Regions from separate parts of the Homo sapiens genome. Here regions 2 and 3 are each linked to region 1. The links are contacts of gene promoters, found by promoter capture Hi-C in human tissues and cell types (Jung and others, 2019). All regions are on one chromosome and are shown on one strand. The core of a region is centred on a gene start or on the middle of the fragment in contact, and the rest is flanking DNA. Distances in the headings are between cores, read along the strand shown.

Region 1 (3,322 bases), core at 181-2,680:
GGCTTTCTGCTTTGCTTTTTAATCAGCCATTTACCAGCAACTGTTGCACTAGCCCGTCAGCACTCGAAGAATAAAAACAAACACACAGGACCAGGTAAAGTTCCCCTACTAACCAAAATGATCCGTTTCCTTAACACAATTTAAAAACCACAGCTAGGGGTGTGAACACAGGCATGTTTTTCTGTGTGTCTGTGTGCCACAATCTGTACAAATCCTTAATTCCCTTTTAAGGAACAGATATATAATGAAAATCCGAAAGGAAACACATTAGAAATGCAAAGAGGTTTGCAAAACAAGAGGCTTCTTTCATTCCAGAAAACCACACCAAAACAAGGGGAGAAAAATGAATGCAATGGATATGTGTTTGCCAAAGTTTCAATCCTGCCCGGTGGAGACACTGCACTGGCACAAATTTTGAGGAGAAAAAAAGGGAGTTGGGGGGACGGGGAGCAAGCGAGTGCGGCCTGCAACAATGCAATCTCCATTTTGAACAATGTGCTTCTTTCCTCTTATAAATCTAGTTTTTTGCCACTTGATGTGCCCTCCCATTTCCCCTCTAAAGTTTAGGGGTCGGCGGGGTTGGCGGGAGATCGGAGCGGGATGCACAGCACATAAGTGAGCAAGGGGGGAGGGGAGAGGAGGTGGGGAATGAGTCTGCAGCAACTGCGCTGGGTGGGTACCTGGAGTGCTGCTGAAGCTGCTTTCCGTGGAGTAACTGGCGTCCTCGTCGTCATCTTCCAGCTCCTCCGGATAATCGGAGTCATCGTCGTCCTCCTCCATGTCATCCTCCTAGTTGTCCTCAGACTCCTGGGTCTCCTCGGCATCGCCGCCCCCCTCCTCTTACTCCTCCTCCTCGCTCTCGTAGTCATCATACACCACTCTGTTGACAGCCCTCCGGGCTGCGGTGGTCCGGGCTAGGTGGCTGCCCCCGCGCCCCCGCCGGGCCCGTGCGCTGGTGCCGGCGCGGGGCGGGCCGGCGGCGGTGGCTTCCTCCGGCTACTGCTGCCCACCCTGGGCGAGCTCAGCCGCGTCTTGGGCGCCACCTCAGCCTGGCGGCTGCCCACCTGCCCCGGCTACTACCGCGTATCGGCGAGGGGAGCCCCCGATGGGTCCGGACGTGGGCGGCGGCGGCGGCGGGGCCGGGGCGCAGCGCTCCGCAGCGGGAGCCGCGGGCTGCTTGGTCGGCCTGCCCCGCCGGCCCCTCTTGTTGGAGCCCAGGCGGCGGGAGAAGGGAAAGCTGACGGGGAGGGCCGGGCGCAGTGGCGGCGGTGGGGAGCGCCGGGGCCGGGTTGGGAGGCCCGAGGGGCTGGGCGGGAGGGGCCCGGCCGGCGGAAGCGAGTGGAGGGAGAAGGCTCAACCGAATTGCTGGGGCCCCACTCAAGATCGCCTTCAACCGCCACCTTGTTTCTTCCCTCTACAGGAGCGCGGTCACGTGAGGTGCGCCGCCGCCCAGCCTGGGAAGGGGGCGAGGTGGCGCGGCGGCCGCTAGGGGGAGCGCGGGAGCATTGAGTCGGGGGCGGAGAGCTCGGGGCGCCTGGACTTGGCGCAGCACGGCGCTCCGGGTGCGGGTGGCGCGGCTGAAAGAGGCCCGCAGCTCCTGACAAGCCCCGCGTCTAAGGCCTTCGGAGACCACAGTCTCCGCGGACCCCTGGCTGGAGCCCAAAGCCTGCCGGGTCTCCTTCCCGCGACTCCCCTTCCGCGGCTCGGAGAGGAAGGCAGGAGAGCCCCCAAATATCGTTCCCCTCCCGCCCTCTAGGGAAACTGAGGCTGAAAGAGGCAGCGAGAGAAAGAAAAAAAAAGTCGCGGAGGGGGGCGGCCCGAGCGACCTAAGGGACGGGGCAGCGCCAGCGACCGAGGAAAATTAGTCGGGGTGGGGTACAGGGAGACAAGCCCCCAGAATTTAGGAAACTCCGAAGCTTGGAAGTGGAGTCCTGAATTGACTCCGATGACAACTGCTCCGGATCTGTGCCAGGAGCCACACCCCGGGCTGCCACGCCTGGAGGGAGGGGGGTCCCTAAGACCTGTTGCATGGGATCCCCACTCGGAAAGCCTCAGTAAACTCCAGAATGCAACTACTGCATGTTCCAATCTCCCGCCACCTTCCCAGTGTCCCAGCTAGGAGCCTGACCACCTTAGCAAGAACTTACCTCTCCTTTGCAGTGGAAAAGAGGGAATCCTGCCTAAAACCTACTTCACGGTGTTACAGGTCTGTATTATCGGGAAATAACCTTAATTTATTTACCTGACAAATCACTAGGTTTGAGCTCAGCCCAGGGGACGAATCATGGTGACAGTTCAGGCACCCTCAAACCTTATCACAGGGACTCAACCCTGAGTGGTTGAGGTCAGTTCTTCAGATAAGAGAAAGGTTTGCCGGGCACAGTGGCTGACGCCTGTAATCCCAGCACTTTGGGAGGCCGAGGCGGGCGGATCACAAGGTCAGGAGTTCGAGACCATCCTGGCTAGCACAGTGAAACCCCATCTCTACTAAAAATACAAAAAAAATTAGCCGGGCGTAGGTGGTGCACGCCTGTAGTCCCAGCTACTCGGGAGGCTGAGGCAGGAGAATGGCGTAAAATCCGGGAGGCGGAGGTTGCAGTGAACCGAGATCGCGCCACTGCACTCCAGCCTGGGAGACAGAGCGAGACTCCGTCTCAAAAAAAAAAAAAAAAAAAAAAAAAAAAAAAGAAAAAGAAAGGTTTCGTAAACATATGTTAATATTTATTGAGATAAGTGACAACCAAAAAGTAATTTAAACAAAAATACTTGGCCGGGCGCGATAGCTCATGCCTGCAATCCCAGCCCTTTGAGAAGCCAAAGCCGGACGATTGCTTGAGGTCAAGAGTTTGAGACTAGCCTGGGCAACATAGCAGGACCTCGTCTCTAGAAAAAAATTGAAAAATTAGCCGGGCATGGTGGTGCGCACCTGTGGTCCCAGCTACGCCAGAGGGTGAGGGGGCAGGATCGCTTGAGCCTGGGAGGTGGATGTTGCACTGAGCCATGATTGCACCTCTGCACTCCAGCCTGAGTGACAGAGCAAGACCCTGTCTCAAAATTTTTAAAAAAGAAAGAAAAATACCTAATAGGAGATGGCTTATTTCAATCTAGTTAGGAAAATGGAACACATATGTGAAATGAAAATTAAAATACAAGCACTAATTGCCAAATACATGCATTCAATACAGTTTGGTTGAGCTCTAAGGGTGGCAAATGTGTGTTATGTCTTCAGGGACTAGGTAAGTAATGTAAGTCAATAAAGTAGACAAGGTGAAGACCTAGGCCAATGGAAATGCTCATATTTTGTTTGAAGAGGGTGGCCAGG
Region 2 (3,322 bases), core at 389-2,888, 370 kb before region 1:
AATTCCCTAATTATTCCCTACAACAAACACACGCACACAACTTTTCTCACCAAATAAAAGCAAATTTTAGTTGGAAACAAATGTGGATACTTTTCACATGTGCGTAAAACACTGTTCAGTGAGGCTGAAAATGAACCTCAAAATAATCACTCCAAAACCATAGTTTAACATACTTTACCACAGGATCAGGTATCAAATTTCAGTTTCGATACCTGAAAATTAGTAATCCATCCATGCTGAAAGGTCTGTAACACCCAAATTCTGTTGTTATATCAACTATATGGTCTATACCCCCACATACACAAGCACACACATAGACACCACCTTCCCACCTTTACAGGGCTCTACATTAACATTTGCTCTAATGTGGTGAGGCTTGAAAATATTTTAAAATTAAGCATTTCCAGATGACCTTTTAGCCTTAACATTCAATGCGTAAGTTTGTGATTAAGAATGCAGATTTTGGCCAAGCGCGGTGGCCCACGCCTGTAATCCCAGCACTTTGGGAGGCCGAGGCAGGGGGATCGCAAAGTCAGGAGATCGAGACCATCCTGGCTAACACGGTGAAACCCCGTCTCTACTAAAAATACAAAAAATTAGCCGGGTGTGGTGGCAAGCACCTGTAGTCCCAGCTACTCGGGAGGCTGAGACAGGAGAATCGCTTGAATCCAGGAGGTGGAGGTTGTAGTGAGCTGAGATCGTGCTACTGCACTCTGGCCTGGGTGACACAGCGAGACAGTCTCAAAAAAAAAAAAAAAAAAAAAAAAAGAATGCAGATTTTGGCCAGGCGCGGTGGCTCACACCTGCTACTCCAGCACTCTGGGAGGCTGAGATGGGTGGATCACCTGAGGTCAGGAGTTTGAGACCAGCCTGGCCAACACGGCAAAACCCCATCCCTACTGAAAAATATTGAAAAAATAGCCAGATGTGGTGGCGGGAGCCTATAATCCCAGCTACTCGGGAGGCTGAGGCAGGAGAATCACTTGAATCCGGGAGGCAGAGGTTGCAGTGAACCGAGATCGCACCACTGCACTCCATCCTGGGTGATAAGAGTGAAACTCCGTCTCAAAAAAGAGAAGGCACATTTCAGTATCCAGTGGCATTTCCAATGATTAAACTTATCCTTGAGGTTAAATTTAATAGTTTATGGAGAAAATAAAACCAGTAAGATTTTCCTAGAAGTGAAAGTAAAAAACTTGAATGAAACATTTCTTGCCTCCAATCAAAAATATCAAATTTTGTCAATTTATTGAAGTTCAATATAGGAACACAAGCTTTACTGAAGCTGTTAATTATGTAACACACAGCAAATTACATAAAATTGCATATGAAATACTTATGTTTATTAACACCACAGTCAAACGTGAATATTAATATAGAGCCTTCTCTGCCAAAAGAGTATAAAAATCCTAAGTTTAATTAAATTTAGGGGCCTTCACCAAACTTGCTGCAAGTTTGGGGACATAAATATCCAACAGCCATAAAGCTGTGAAAGCCCCTATAAGGAATAAAATAAATCCCACTTGCCTCAGACTGAACAGGGCAACACTGAGACTCAGCCTCAGCCTGTCCTATGGCAGGGCTATAGGAAGAAGAAAATTTTAATTTTAGAAAAACAGTTCCCAATTAATTTAAAAGACATGCATTAAAATTTTTTTTTTTAAAAATCCCAATGATCAAGCAAGCAAAAGGAGCAGCTTTGTTTTTAACTATTGTCCACTACAATTCCACTCTGAGCCCGTACTTCTTTTTGTTGGGGAATCCCCCTCCCCAATTAATTAAGTTTAATTAAGGTGAGTCTAAGTTCAAAATGTAACTTAGTGGAATAGGAGTACAGTAGGAATATTTTATTCATACCTAATGGCAAATGTGTGAGACACTACTAAAATACTAAGTATTCAAATCAAGTAATTCCAGCAGCCACTCAAAAATTAATCCTTACCTGCTGTGGTCTTGTTAAACAGTATGAAAACTTATACAACAGAAACTAGTGCCAGACAAAATGTTTTCTTGTTTTTCTAAAAGGGGTGGATGTAAGGTAGAGCCAAAGTTGCCAGCCCTACTAACCTTACAGCTTCCTTAATTATGACAATCACAATGCCTGCCTGAATTATCAAGTCCCAAAAGTTGTCTTCTGTGAGGGCAGTTGGCATCCACTTTGACTCAACTTCATCTACTACTTAAGGAAGGTTGAGTCAGAGTTAATTATATGAATATAATTTGCTCCACTCATAATTCAACCACACTATGGACCCCAGAAGCATTTAGAAAAAAGGTATTTTCTAGAAGCTTAATTACGTTTGGATGCATGCAAAAATTACACTTCAAATATATTAAATGGGTACACCACCTCTGAGCCTATAGCTACAAACTCAGGAACTCATGAGCTTAAGTTTTATCTGCCAATGCCTAACACTTTCAATTAATTTTTAATTAGAATTCTATCCCATATTTAAAAGTTCCATTTTTGCCCATCAGACCTATACAGAGAGCAAAAAACCTTGCTACAAAGTATCAACCTTCTTTGCATAAAATGCAAATAAAGCTTCACATAATTTCTGAAACAGGTCTACTAACCCTATTGCAGTTTGTCAATAACCGTATACATGAAATTCCTGAGAATTTGGGAGAGCACCCCTTACTTAATTATTCTAAATTTAATCACAGCATTTTTTTTTTTTGAGACGGAGTCTCAATCTGTCGTCCAGGCTAGAGTGCAGTGGTGTGATCTCCGCTCACTGCAAGCTATGCCTCCCGGGTTCACGCCATTCTCCTGCCTCGGTCTCCAGAGTAGTTGGGACTACAGGCATCCGCAACTACGCCCAGCTAATTTTTTGTATTTTTAGTAGAAACGGGGTTTCACCGTGTTAGCCAGGATGGTCTCCATCTCCTGACCTCATGATCCACCCGCCTGGGCCTCCCAAAGTGCTGGGATTACAGGCGTGAGCCACTGCGCCCGGCCTATCACACCATTTTTATCTTAAAGACTTTCAACACAAGTTTTCCTTCAGCAGTATATTAAGTGTGCTGCCAAATCAAAGCAGCATGTATTAATTTTGAAACCATTTAGGTAAGCAGAGGTTCAGAGGGGAAAGTGGTTTGGGACTTGGCTGCTGGCAGAAAGAAATACATTACTGGCAAAATACCTGTTTTATTTTCAAACTATGAAAATTTTTGTACCACTATGGTACCACAAGCACAGGAGCCAAAATCATTGAAGCCAGATAATCAGATATTTTAATTTATTTTTTGACAGAGTCTCGCTCTGTTGCCCAGGCTGGAGTGAACATAGCTCACCGCAGCCTCGGAAGGAGGAAGAACC
Region 3 (3,322 bases), core at 500-2,999, 330 kb before region 1:
ACTGCTCCCGGCCCCAGCCCTGAAATTTTTAAATCATCAATTATACCTCAATAAAGTTGAAAGATAAAAAAGATAAGAATGTGTGCAGGGGTGTGATTATAATGACTGACCATGGAATTAAGGCAGAATAAGGAGGGAAGTGAGATGAGAAACTTGAGAGACTGAAAAAGAGGTAGGGTCAGTGGATTGGGGGTTCCAGTGGAGTCACAGTACTGGAGAGAATGAGCTGGAAAGATAGGAATATTTTAAGCTATTTGATGAGGTAGATCATACTTAGTGACATACATTCCTAGAAGCCTCACCAATAGGGGTCATAAGGACAGCTTTCCCCAGTCCTTAAAAGAGCCCCTGGCGTTGGTACCATTCTGTCTGACTTAATGGGTGTGAATACCCTAGTCCACTGGTAAAGAATGTGTGTCTTTCATTTGTCAAGCCTCTCCTTGGCAGATACTAATCTACCATCCGAAGTGGAGCCAGAGCTGCGCAGTTTCATTGCTAAGCGTCTTTCAAGAGGTGCAGTCTTTGAAGGGCTGGGTAATGTTGCATCTGTGGAGCTAAAGTAAGTGCAAAATGTGCTGTGTCCTGAGTTTTTATTTCTGAACTAAATATGAGAAGTGATGAGAAACTCCAAAAGATCAGCTCCTACTAGACCTGCAGAATTTGTCTTTATTCTCTGGCAGCCCGAGCACTGGGCCTCACACATAAACATTTGTGGAATGGAATTAATTGAATGGCAGAGACCCTGGCACCCAATTGCACTTTATTTAATTAGTTTATTTTTTTTTGAGACAGGGTCTTGCTTTGTTGCCCAGGCTGGAGTGCAGCGGCCCGATTACAGCTCACTGCAGCCTTGACCTCCTGGGCTTAATCAATCCTCTCACCTCAGCCTCCCAAGTAGCTGGGACTGCAGGCAGGCACTACGATGCCCAGCAATTTTTTTAATTTTTTTTTTTTTTTTTTTTTAGAAATGGGGTCCTACCATGTTGCCCAGGCTAATAAGTTTTGTACTTAGAAGAAGAAAAGTGTTGATTATTAAAACTAAATTTGTATACAGTTTGTATTTTCACAAACTTTTATGTAGTTTTCCTTACAAAGGGGAAATATAGCAGATACTCTCTTATTTTCATTTTCAGATGAGGAAATAAACTCAGAGTTTATGTAAACTTAAGTCATGAGGCTGGTCAAATTGATGGAGTTCAGGCTTAAACATGAGCATTCTTAGTCCAATTCCAACTGTCTTTCCATTACACCTCTCCTTTTTTGTTTTGTTTTGTTTTTTTTAAGACAGAGTCTCACTCTGTTGCCCAGACTGGAGTACAGTAGCATGATCTTGGCTTACTGCAACCTCCGCCTCCCTGGTTCAAGCAATTCTCCTGCCTCAGCCTCCCGAATAGCTGGGATTACAGGCATGCACCACCATACCCGGCTAATTTTTGTATTTTTAGTAGAGATGGGGTTTCACCATGTTGGCCAGGCTGGTCTCGAACTCCTGACCTCAGGTGATTCACCCGCCTTGGCCTCCCAAAGTGCTGGGATTACAGGTGTGAGCCACTGTGCCCGGCCTCCATTACACCTCTTTATTCTAGTTCAACTCAGACCGTGAAGTTAGCATACAGGTCCTCAGGAGTTTGAGGCCACTTCCCAAGGATAAGGCCACCTTCAGGCACATCTGCCTTAAACATCAATTTGTGAAGCTTTGGGAGAGGGGAGAACATACTTTTTTTTAATATAAACATGGGTATGAACTAGAGTGAAATTTGTGTGAATTTTTCACATAAGACAGGAGAATTCAAAGAAATTTCATGTATGTTAGTGGCTGCTTTAACTAAAGCCCTCCAGGGTATACATTCATTTTTCTTTGCTGCTGCAAGTACACCAACGAGAAGTCTGGGAAGCTCTGAGTTAGTGGGCAGTTTAATGGTGTTGCCAGATCAAGATGACCAGAATTCAGAGCAGTCCACAAAATTATAGATGCATGAGTAACCAAAATAATGCATTTTACATTTTCTTTCTTTTCTAGAATTCCAGGTTACCGAGTTGGTTGTTATTACTGCCTTTTCCAAAATGAAAAACTGCTTCCTGAAACAGTAACGATAGACTCTGAACGTAACCCTTCAGAATATGTGGTCTGTTTTTTAGGAGGGTCTGAAAAAGGACTTGAGCTATATCCTTTCTTTGGTTTTTGAGAACATCAGGAAGGAAAACATGGGAAGGCAGGTGGAAGAATATTACTACCAACCTCCAAAAAGCTTTTCTACTCCTCGTGTATTTAGTTGAATTTCATACCTTCATGTGGCCATTTTGCCTTGGCTTGTTTGCATTTGCAGCTCACATTATTTGAGAGATTTTATATTTCTTGTTGAGAGATGAAATACTGTCTTCATTATTCATCCTTTATTGCTTCCTTAAGAACATACTTTCAGGCTTGAATTGGACAAGTACATTCAAGGGCTGAAAAATAACATGAATTGTGAGGTAAGGTGACTGACTTAATGGTTTTTAAAGACTGAAATGGGGCCAGGCTCAGTGGCTCACGCCTGTAATCCCAGCACTTTGGGAGGCCGAGGTGGGCAGATCACAAGGTCAGAGACCAGCCTGGTCAATATGATGAAACTTCATCTCTACTAAAACTTAGCCAGGCATGGTGGCAGGCACCTGTAGTCCCAGCTACTTGGGAGGCTGAGGCAGGAGAATCGCTTGAACCCGGGAGGCAGAGGTTTCAGTGAGCCGAGATTGCACCACTGCACTCCAGCCTGAGCGACAGAGTTAAAAAAATAAAATAATGACTGAAATGATTAATATACTGTGATTGCTCTACTTGTCAAATCATATAGGTAGACACAAAGACGCCTGTATTCTAGAAACTTGCCACCTTGTGAGCTAGTAGAGAGGTGAATTTTTTTTTTTTTTAGACAGGGTCTTGCTTTGTTGCCCAGGCTGCAGGGCAGTGGCGCGATCAGGCTCACTGCAGCCTCAGCTTCTTGGGGCTCAAGCAGTCTTCTCGCCTCAGCCTCCTAAACAGCTGGGACTACAGGCAAATACCAACACGCCTGGCTAACTTTTGGTATTTTTTGTCGAGATGGGGATCTCACTTTGTTGCCCAGGCTGGTCTAGGATTCCTGGCCTCAAGCAATCCTCCCTCCTCAGCCACCCAAAGTGCTGAGATTACAGACACGAGCCATTGTGCCCAGCCTACAGGTGGTTTCTTTTTCTTTTTCATTTTTTGAGATAGGGTCTCACTCTATCACCCAGGCTGGAGTGCAGTGGCACGATCATGGCTTACTGCAGCCTTTTCTGGGCTCCAGCGATCCTCCCACCTCAG

Evidence for each region. The method cuts DNA at HindIII sites, captures the fragments that hold promoters and counts their contacts. A contact is called where the count stands out against the background at its distance.
Region 2: a fragment that was not itself captured here is called in contact with the fragment with the promoter of LRRC37B in region 1 in 3 of the 25 tissues and cell types used here (hippocampus, spleen and thymus).
Region 3: a fragment that was not itself captured here is called in contact with the fragment with the promoter of LRRC37B in region 1 in 2 of the 25 tissues and cell types used here (bladder and dorsolateral prefrontal cortex).

Annotation. Positions count from the first base shown.
Region 1 is chr17:32,005,491-32,008,812 of GRCh38, reverse strand. LRRC37B (leucine rich repeat containing 37B) reads right to left here and starts at 1,430. Exons shown (of 15, transcript NM_001321350.2): 1 at 681-1,430. It overlaps LOC124903972, which reads left to right and starts at 1,106. Exons shown (of 4, transcript XM_047437248.1): 1 at 1,106-1,437; 2 at 2,108-2,206. The coding sequence starts at 1,106. RefSeq lists silencers at 1,025-1,374, 1,415-1,464 and an enhancer at 1,507-2,429. The HindIII fragment of the contact is 11,687 bases long and covers 1-3,322 here.
Region 2 is chr17:32,371,659-32,374,980 of GRCh38, reverse strand. It overlaps ZNF207 (zinc finger protein 207), which reads right to left. Exons shown (of 12, transcript NM_001098507.2): 12 at 1-3,322. Among named protein-coding and RNA genes, the nearest start is that of ZNF207, 23 kb to the right of the region's middle. The HindIII fragment of the contact is 3,452 bases long and covers 1-3,322 here.
Region 3 is chr17:32,337,050-32,340,371 of GRCh38, reverse strand. It overlaps C17orf75 (chromosome 17 open reading frame 75), which reads left to right. Exons shown (of 10, transcript NM_022344.4): 3 at 434-559; 4 at 2,021-2,164; 5 at 2,418-2,475. Among named protein-coding and RNA genes, the nearest start is that of C17orf75, 3.5 kb to the left of the region's middle. The HindIII fragment of the contact is 3,781 bases long and covers 1-3,322 here.